3 separate regions of the Homo sapiens genome follow, and all the other regions are linked to region 1. Evidence: promoter capture Hi-C in 16 types of primary human blood cells and fetal thymus (Javierre and others, 2016). All regions are on one chromosome and are shown on one strand. The core of a region is centred on a gene start or on the middle of the fragment in contact, and the rest is flanking DNA. Distances in the headings are between cores, read along the strand shown. Region 1 has its middle 47 kb from the start of PEX5. Region 2 holds the start of GDF3 (growth differentiation factor 3). Region 3 holds the start of CD163 (CD163 molecule).

Region 1 (3,254 bases), core at 391-2,890:
AAGAAAAGAATCATCTATGGATGCTAAAATAGTTGGGTGAAAGTTAACTGGAGAATAGGATACTTACGCAGTCTCAAATTATTACACAACAGATTACATACTAATTACAAAGAGGAAAATATACCTTTACAATGGAGAGAAATGGCAGTCACCTCTTTAATCGAAAGATCAAAACTGTCAGTATCCAAAACGAGACAACACAATGTTTCCTCAATATAAGCAAATAAGAACTACACATTTCCTACATAACATTCTTGAGAAAGATGTTTATCTCGGATCTCATTATAAGGAAATTAGAAAGTGAGGCATTTTCTAACACAACAGTCCTCTACTCTTCAAAATGTCCATGTCATGAAAAACAAACAATGGTGGTGGGACAGTTTTAGATAAAAATAACTAAGGAGATATGAGAACCAAATAAATAAATGAACCTTGATTGAATTCTGGATTTACCAAAGCTGTAAAACACATTCGAGTACAACTGAGAAAATCTAAATATTGGCTGGATATTAGATAGAATTAAAGAATTATTTTTAATTTTCATAGATGTAATAATGCTGATGATTAAGAAGAAAATCTTTGTTCTTCAGAGAATGCTGCTGAAATATTTAAGAACAAAGTATCATAATGTCTGCACTTACTCCCAAATGTCTCATTAAAAATATACAAATAGGCCGGGTGCAGTGGCTCATGCCTGTAATCCCAGCACTTTGGGAGGCCAAGGTGGGCCAATCACTTGAGGTCAGGAGTTTGAGACCAGGCTGGCCAACATGGTGAAACCCCGTCTCTACTAATAATACAAAAATTAGCCAGGCATGGTGGTGGGTGCCTGTAATTCCAGCTACTCGGGAGGCTGAGGCAGGAGAATCACTTGAACCCAGGAGGCGGAGGATGCAGTGAGTAGAGATCGCACCACTGCACTCCAGTCTGGGTGACAGAGTGAGACTCTGTCTCAAAAAAGGAAAGAAAAAAGCAAATATAAAGTAAATGAGGCAAAATTTTAATAATAAGTGAATATAGGTGAGAGATGTACAAGTAGGTGTTCATTGTGCTACTATTTTGACACTTGTAGACTCAAAAATTTGCAAAATTAAAAGTTGGGACAAAAGTACTTGACAAATCATAAAGTACTCAAAAACAATGGCACTATGATTAGTAGCAACAATGAAAGTATTTAGAGAAAAAGAAACTTTTCTTACCATGTGTGGACAGTACAGAGAAACAGGTTGGTTTAGTTTTATATGAATTGTAATATTTCCTTCTTCCCCTAGAGACAGGATATTTGAGTTTTCACCCACAATCTGAAATTAGGTAACCATTAAAGGGATTTTCCTTACAAACCATTTGTGCTCTTCCTACCAGATCTAAACACAGGATCTAAACTTAAGCCTTACTACCCCCATTCAATATTCCAGGAAAGTGCTTGGTCAGTGTACCTAGAAACTGGGCAACCTAAGAGGGGTGTGGTTGGGTGGTGAGTGTGAGGGTGCCAGAGCTGGAAACATTTGGGTTTGCATGTCCACTCTGACACCTTCTGACTTTGAGAAGCTTGGATGCTTCTCTGAACCTCAGTTTCCTCATCTAGAAAAGCAGAGATTTAAAAATGCACCTACTGTATAGCTTTATTGTGAGGATGAAATAAGGTGATACAGGTAAGGGCTCCAGTGCCTGGTTAGTACAAAGTTTTAAGAAACCAGCATCTCGGGAAGGCCTTTCCAACCAGGAAGCTTAATTAGTCATCAAATGTTTAAGAAAATAAATATAAAAAACATGAAATTTTAAAAACAGATTTGGCAGTTTTATAACAGTATAGGAGGTGGTGTTATTTTTTCCTTTCAAGGATTGGAAGGCAGGTTGGGAGCAAATAAAAAAAAAATTTGAAAATAATGAGTTATTTCAGCTGAGTGGCTTCTTTATTGACTAAAATAGAGGATATGACCGTGAAGTAATGTGACATGAGTTAAAAAGTGGACTGAGATGCTACCTCAATTTTGAGGCCACAACCTTCCAGGTTATCACCTTGGAAAGCAATCTTCATACTCATCTTGAATTTATTATCCTTGCTGAATACTTTGAAACTTTTATATAGGAAGCACCAGCTCTAAGGATCAGAAGGTGCTCAGAGATAGTAGATCTTCATACTTTGATGGCAAACTTTAGACTTTAGGGAAAAAAGTGGCATTTAGTACTAAGTCTAGTAAATTAGATAAATTATCTGGAGAATACAATTTTAAATGAGATTTTTAAAAACTGATTCTATTTTCAATGAAATTGTTCTATGAATTTTATTTTTTGATTGTTTATTGATATTATATAGACATACAGTTGATATAATTTTTATATATTGATCTTATATCCTGCAACTTTGATGAACTCAATTATTAGCTCTAATAGTGTGTGTATGTGTTTGTATGTATGTATTCCTCAGGATTTTCTATATACATTGTGATGTTATCTGTTGAATAGAGATAGTTTTACTTTTTCTTTTCCAATTTGGATGCTATTTCTTTTTCTTGCCTAAATGCCCTGGATAGAACACCTCTATGTTGAATAGAAGTGGCAAGAGTGAATATTCTTGTAAGTCCTGATCTCAATGGGAGCACTTTCAGTCTTTAACTGTTGAGTATGATGTGAGCTGTGGGGTTTCTGTATATGTCCTTTAACAGGTTGAGAAAGTTCCCTTTCATTGCTAGTTTGTTGAGGGTTGTTACCATAAATAGGTGTTAAATTTTGTCAATGATTTTTCTGCATCTACTCAGATGATCAGGTGATTTATGTCCTTTGTTTTACTAATATGGTATATTAATTGGTTTTCATAGTTTGAACCAATTTTGTATTTCTGGTATAATCCCACGTGGTTGTGAAATATATTCCATTTATATGTTCCTTGTTAGGTGGGCTAGTATGTTTTTGAATTTTTTTGCACCTATAGTCATAAGGAATATTAATTTGTGGTTTTCTTTTCTTGTGATGTCTTTGGTTTTGGTGTCAAGATAATCGTGGCTCATACTATGACCCCATTTTGAGGCCCAGCCTCCAAAATCCTGGTCTTACATATTTTTTGGAGAATTTGTGAAGGATTAATGTTAATGCTTCCTTAAATGTTGGATGGAATTCACCATGAAGCCATCTGGGCCTGGCCTTTTCTCTGTGGGAAGTTGTGTGTGTGCACACGTGTGTGTTGGATGGGGAATGTAAGAAATTAAGTTACAATACTTCATTTTGACAAATTGAAAAATTAAAAACCTATTCAT
Region 2 (3,254 bases), core at 331-2,830, 460 kb before region 1:
CACCAGTGGAGATACTTTGGGGAAAAAGACACACTGAAGATACTTAGGCAAAGAGACACAGTTCTGATCCTCAAGGTGTGAGTTGTCTGAAAAGGAAGGAGGCAAACACAGTAAAATGCACTGCAGAAACTGTAATGGAGGGCCGGGTGCAGTGGCTCACACCTATAATCCCAACACTTTGGGAGGCCGAGGTGGGTGGATTACCTGAGGTCAGGAGTTTGAGACCAGCCTGACCGACATGGAGAAACCCCGTCTCTACTAAAAATACAAAAGTAGCCGGGCATGGTAGCGCATGCCTGTAATCCCAGCTACTAGGGAGGCTGAGGCAGGAGAATTGCTTGAACCTGGGAGGCAGAGGTTGTGGTGAGCTGAGATCGTGCCATTGCACTGCAGCCAGGGCAACAAGAGCGAAACTCCGTCTCAAAAAAAACAAAAAAACAAAAAAACTGTAATGGATGCCCAAGTATGGCTCAGTGGGAGAAAGAAGTATCTCAATCTATTTTGGTGAGTCGAAACTGTGGAAGTAGAGGTGACCTTTGAACTTGGTCTGTGTAAAGGCTCTGAGATGAAATGAGCTCACAGAGCTACAAATAGGTCAATGTAATTAGAGCATCCACACTAAGGATGGTGGGTGGTGAGAAACAAGGCTGGCGGCTGGGTGTAGTGGCTCATGCCTACAATCCCAGCACTTTGGGAGGCCGAGGTGGGAAGACTGCTTGAGACCAGGAGTTCAAGACCAGTCTGGACAACATGGCAAGGCCCCATCTCTGTAAAAAATAAAACAATTAGCTGGAAGTGGTGCCCTATGCCTGTAGTCTCAACTACTCCAGAGGCTGAGGTGGGATGATCTCTTGAGCTCAGGGGGTCGAGGCTTGCAGTGAGCCAAGATCAGGCCACTGCACTCCAGCCTGGGCAACAGAGCGAGACCCTGTCTCAAAAATAAATAAATACATAAATAAAAATAAAAATAAAAATAAAATAATGAAATCTACTTGAGTATTTGTCTAATCCAGGGGTGTCCAATCTTTTGGCTTCCCTGGGTCACATTGGAAGAAGAAGAATTGTTTTGGGCCACACGTAAAATATACTAACACTAATGATAGCTGATGAGCTTAAAAAAATCACAAGAAAGTTTCATAATGTTTTACGGAAGTTTATGAATCTGTGTGGGGCTGCATTCAAAGCCATCGTGAGCCTCATGTGACCCTCCGGCCGCAGGTTGGACAAGCTTGGTCTATGTAGATGATTAATTACAAGTCTATGAATTATTCACTGCTCTATTCCTAGCACCTATCTCAGCACCGTGCACATAATAGATGCTTAGTAACTGTTTGTTAAATGAATAAATGCATGTCTCCTTTTCACTCTGTCTACTGCTGACAACCTCACATTGTTGTAGAATTTATGTCCATGCATTGGTAATCTTTGTTCTGTGAACTTTTTCCTGGAAGAGTAGAGCAAGAGAAGAGAAAAAAAAATTCCCTCTTCACATCCAATGGCCTTTGAGGAGCTGGGAAGAGAGCAATTCACACTTGATTATCTTACATCAGATAAATTAGCAGCCTCTGAATTGTTGGGCAGTCTGGCAGTGGAGCTCTCCCCGGTCTGACAGCCACTCCAGAGGCCATGCTTCGTTTCTTGCCAGATTTGGCTTTCAGCTTCCTGTTAATTCTGGCTTTGGGCCAGGCAGTCCAATTTCAAGAATATGTCTTTCTCCAATTTCTGGGCTTAGATAAGGCGCCTTCACCCCAGAAGTTCCAACCTGTGCCTTATATCTTGAAGAAAATTTTCCAGGATCGCGAGGCAGCAGCGACCACTGGGGTCTCCCGAGACTTATGCTACGTAAAGGAGCTGGGCGTCCGCGGGAATGTACTTCGCTTTCTCCCAGACCAAGGTAAGGAAATAGAGTGTTATCCAGAAAAACATCTGGAACTGGGTGGTGTGAAGAAAGGAAAGGACAATAGGAAATGACAATTACTGATGGCCTTGTGCTGGTATTTTTCATATTTTGTCTCATTTAATTCCAGCCACGATCCTGAGAGGAAGTTAGATATTCTTATCAAGTTCCTAACAGTAAGGAAATTAGGCTCAGACAGTAGGTAACCTGTAATCTATTCAAGATCATACAGCTAGTGTGTGAGAACAAAGTCAGGATTTGAAATAGGTTTTTGTTTTCTGAATCAACTGCTTTGTGCTTCAGTTGAGATGAAAGAGGTGAGGGAGGAATCAGAGCTCAGTCTCCCACCCTGCAGCCCATATATACACATCCTGCCGTCTTCCATGTGGCAAGCAGGGTATGAAAATTTTGAGGTTGGTTTGCCCAGGAGTCCTGCTTCCCTTATTTGTACCTCCTGGCTACTCTTGTTGGGTGGCAAAGGTTATTCTAGATTTGTGAATAGAGAGCAATAATATATACAACTGTCATATCCTTTTAAAAGGATCTCAGTGAGTGGGATCCAGTACTTTCCCAAACTGACCACCCACCAAATAACTTAGGTCTTCCATTAACAGTAGATCCTCCAACCCCATTCCTGCCCCTAGTTCTCCCCACCCAATTCTTATTCAAAGTCTGAAATGGGTGTTGAGAATCTGCATGTCTATACAACCTCCCGGGTGTTTCAGATGCAGAATTTAGAGCCTTGGTTAGTTTTACAGCAACTGGAGAGAAGATTTGAATATTTATTTGTCCAAGAAGCACTTATTGGATACCTATGGTGAGCCAGGAACTGTGTATGGCCTTGAGAATACAAGATAAAGTTTGCCTTTTTTTTTTTTTTTTTTTTTTGAGAGTCTCGCTCTGTCCCCCAGGCTGGAGTAGAGTGGCACTTTCTCAGCTCACTGCAACCTCCGCTTCCTGGGTTCAAGTGATTCTTCTGCCTCAGCTTCCCAAGTAGCTGGGATTACAGGCGTGTGTCACCAAGCCCAGCTAATTTTTTAATTTTTTAATTTTTTAGTAGAGACAGGGTTTCACTATATGTTGGCCAGGCTGGTCTTGAACTCCTGACTTCAGGTGATCCGCCTGCCTCAGCCTCCCAAACTGCTGGGATTACAGGCCTGAGCCACCGCACCCAGCCCAGAATTACCTTTTAAAAATGCGTATTGAGTCGTACTGCTCCTCCACGTAAAATTCTCGTCTGCAAAATTCTGCAAGAGTTGACCCACCATGCCCTGCCTGTTCTGACCCTGCTGCTTACTTCCCCAGTCTCACCTTTTACACCCTCTCCTTGCACACTCAACTCCAAGCTCATAGTAGT
Region 3 (3,254 bases), core at 469-2,968, 270 kb before region 1:
AGCCATCCCATTTCTGGGTATATACCCAAAGGATTATAAATCATGCTGCTATAAAGACACATGCACACGTACGTTTATAGCGGCACTACTCGCAATAGCAAAGACTTGGAACCAACCCAAATGTCCATCAATGATAGACTGGATTAAGAAAATGTGGCACATATATACCATGGAATACTATGCAGCCATAAAAAATGATGAGTTCATGTCCTTTGTAGGGACATGGATGAAACTGGAAACCATCATTCTCAGCAAACCATCGCAAGGACAAAAAACCAAACACCACATGTTCTCACTCATAGGTGGGAATTGAACAATGAGAACACATGGACACAGGAAGGGGAACATCCCACTCCAGGGACGGTTGTGGGGTCAGGGGAGGGGGGAGGGATAACATTAGGAGATATACCTAATGCTAAATGACGAGTTAATGGGTGCAGCACACCAGCATTGCACATGTATACATACGTAACAAACCTGCATGTTGTGCACATGTATCCTAAAACTTAAAGTATAATAATAATTTAAAAAAAGGAAAAAAATATATATATAATTGACAACCCTCATAAGTACAGGCTATCATGAGTGCATATTTTCTGGGGTCTTTCAGCGTTAGAGTTATTTCTCCTAGTGAAGGGAGGTTTAACTGAGAAATAAAGTATACGTGAGTGAGAGTTATCTTAGAGAAAGGTACGGGTAGGGAGGCAGTAAACACAGAAGGAACAATATGTATGACATACCATGAGGCAGGGAGAGATTTGGCATGCCTGAGAAGTGGAAGAAAACTGGGGTGCCTTTGTTGACTGGGTTCTAGTGAATGTCTCTCTGGAAGGCTGGAGTTGCTCTTTAATTCCCCATTTCAGGCCCATCACTAACACCTGACAATATGTATGCCATGATGAACTATTAGTAGTTCTTTTGAGCTTATATGTTTTTATATACAAATATTCATTTGTATGTGCTATTTTTTATGCCTTAAACTCCTTTATCATTTGTCCCTTTGGCAATGTTTTTCTCATCTTTTAGGACACAATTTAAGCCTGTCCTCAGAGAAAATAGTTTTCTGACTGTTCATTCCTTTCTCTCAATAGATAGGACTACTTTGTCCATTATTTTTAACACTGCACTTTAGCTTTATGTTCATTGTTGTTATCATATGTGTTTCTCTTACTTGAATCTGAGTTATATAGAGCTAAAATCATGTGTTGCTAATTTTTGTTTCACCATTTGTAATATCAGTAATAGTCATGGCTAATTCTCTTGGTGTACTTCATCCCATTAGAAAAGAAATGACAAATGCTGTGTCTCAACAACTTACACAAAATTACTCATTAGACACATTTGATTATGGAAATAAAATTAAAAGTGCATATGATAAAATGTTATTTAATTATGTTTTGCCTGTTTTGCTTTAGTTTTTTACATAATTTTTCTACATGACAATTAGTAATTTTTTGTGTCTTATATATTTGTCCAAAATGAAGTTCAAAAATGTAAAATATTTAATTCAGCAACAGCAGCATATGAGTTAGTATTTCCTCTAATTTTTCGAAATCTGTGGGAAGTGTTTCCCAATTTCCTTTGGTTGTTTCATGTGCTATATTGAAGAAAACATGAGTATGAAATGGAACCTCAGCTCTTTCAATGACTTCCCTTTTTGAGTTGACTCCGCCTCCATATGTAGCCTTTTCATTTTCATGAAAGTGAAGTGATTTTTAGAATTCTTAGTTGTTTTCTTTAGAAGAACATTTCTAGGGAATAATACAAGAAGATTTAGGAATCATTGAAGTTATAAATCTTTGGAATGAGCAAACTCAGAATGGTGCTACTTGAAGACTCTGGATCTGCTGGTAAAAGCTTCTCATTTATTCTACATTTCCCCTTTAATGGGGTATGTAATTATTATGACAGTCAATGGATGTGATTTAAAAGTGATTGGCATCAGGAGAGTAAGGAGTGGAAAAAGGACATAGGCTTATATGGCAGCACCTTTGATCTGCCATAGATTCAAAATTGAAGATGTGATATGGGAATCAGAGTCGGCATTAATTTTGTAAAACTGCTGAGGTGAAATTAAGTCAGGAACTAAAGTTAACTGAAATGTACTGAGTATGAAAAAATAGTTGTTAGAAAAGATAGAATATGCAGAAAGGAATATTGATAGAGAGTTAATTACATAAAGAAAGTTATCTACTCTGATAAGTGAGTTATCTATTTTAAGACTTATTTGGACATGTTAAAATCATTTAGCATTTTTAGTTTTAAATTAGTGTTGGGTTAGAGTAACGAGAAGATATGAGAGTAATAACAGCATTAAAGAGTGTATTATGTGATAAGGATACAGGTAGAGATGACAAGATTTAATATTTGAGTTTTTCAGATATGGATATCATCACTTAGGTATTGTTCTGCTAGCTACTATTTGGCAAGCATCAAGCCAGGTACTGGTGAAATTATGGTGAACATGATAGATATAATTCGTTTACTCATGGAACTTATCCTCTATCAGTGCGGCTAGGTAGTCTTAAAGATGGGGGCATCCATAATTGAATATCAAGGTGGTTAGGGAATAGAGAAATCTCAGGATACCTTCCCTGTGCCTGCTGGGAGAATTGTCCACTACTAAGTTTCATTGATGTTGTTTCCATTTTCCAGGTTTTAAGGGTTGACCTTGCAATTCTCGTTTCCACCACCAACCTTCTGCTAATCCGTCACCTCTAGGTTGCCTATAAACATGAACATTTTCAAAACCATTTCACTGAAACTATATGAGCCTGGGTATGAATGTTTTCTGCCTGCCTTGCAATTTAGAATGAAGAGTTTTCTGTCTTGGTTTGAGCTTCTTTGTTAATTAACCTCTGAAACCATCTATCTTCTCCAAAGTCTCTTTTTGGGAAGATGCTACTTTTGCCCTCTTTTCTTTTTCACAGACTTCAGAAGACATTTTGTCAACTTGAGTCCCTTCACCATTACTGTGGTCTTACTTCTCAGTGCCTGTTTTGTCACCAGTTCTCTTGGTGAGTACTTTGTCAAATTTACTTACAGCCTTAGCCCACTCTGACAAGAACAGTTAAAAGGCAAACAATTTTTCTGAAGGCCAAGTAGCATCTAAAAACTAGGTGACATGCTCCATGTATTCAAAGGATCAGATATTATTAAAAGCACACAATAAAAATCTAACCAAAATATTAGCATGGTTCCTCACCAAATGAAATAAACTCACAGGAGAGAAATGAATTTTACTTAAAGATTAG

Evidence for each region. Contacts are between HindIII fragments. The CHiCAGO score rates a contact against its expected background, and 5 or more counts as called.
Region 2: the fragment with the promoter of GDF3 here is called in contact with a fragment that was not itself captured in region 1 in 9 of 17 cell types (M0 macrophages, naive CD4 T cells, naive CD8 T cells and 6 more); the score reaches 8.6 in M0 macrophages.
Region 3: a contact is called between the fragment with the promoter of CD163 here and a fragment that was not itself captured in region 1, in 4 of 17 cell types (endothelial precursors, activated CD4 T cells, fetal thymus and 1 more). The highest score is 6.5, in endothelial precursors.

Annotation. Positions count from the first base shown.
Region 1 is chr12:7,235,482-7,238,735 of GRCh38, reverse strand. It overlaps the pseudogene LOC100420983. Among named protein-coding and RNA genes, the nearest start is that of PEX5, 47 kb to the right of the region's middle. The HindIII fragment of the contact is 179 bases long and covers 1,551-1,729 here.
Region 2 is chr12:7,694,101-7,697,354 of GRCh38, reverse strand. It overlaps GDF3 (growth differentiation factor 3), which reads left to right and starts at 1,580. Exons shown (of 2, transcript NM_020634.3): 1 at 1,580-1,894. The coding sequence starts at 1,627. RefSeq lists an enhancer at 3,099-3,254. The HindIII fragment of the contact is 5,455 bases long and covers 1,231-3,254 here.
Region 3 is chr12:7,502,241-7,505,494 of GRCh38, reverse strand. It overlaps CD163 (CD163 molecule), which reads left to right and starts at 1,718. Exons shown (of 17, transcript NM_203416.4): 1 at 1,718-1,850; 2 at 2,931-3,017. The coding sequence starts at 1,805. The HindIII fragment of the contact is 3,696 bases long and covers 1-1,859 here.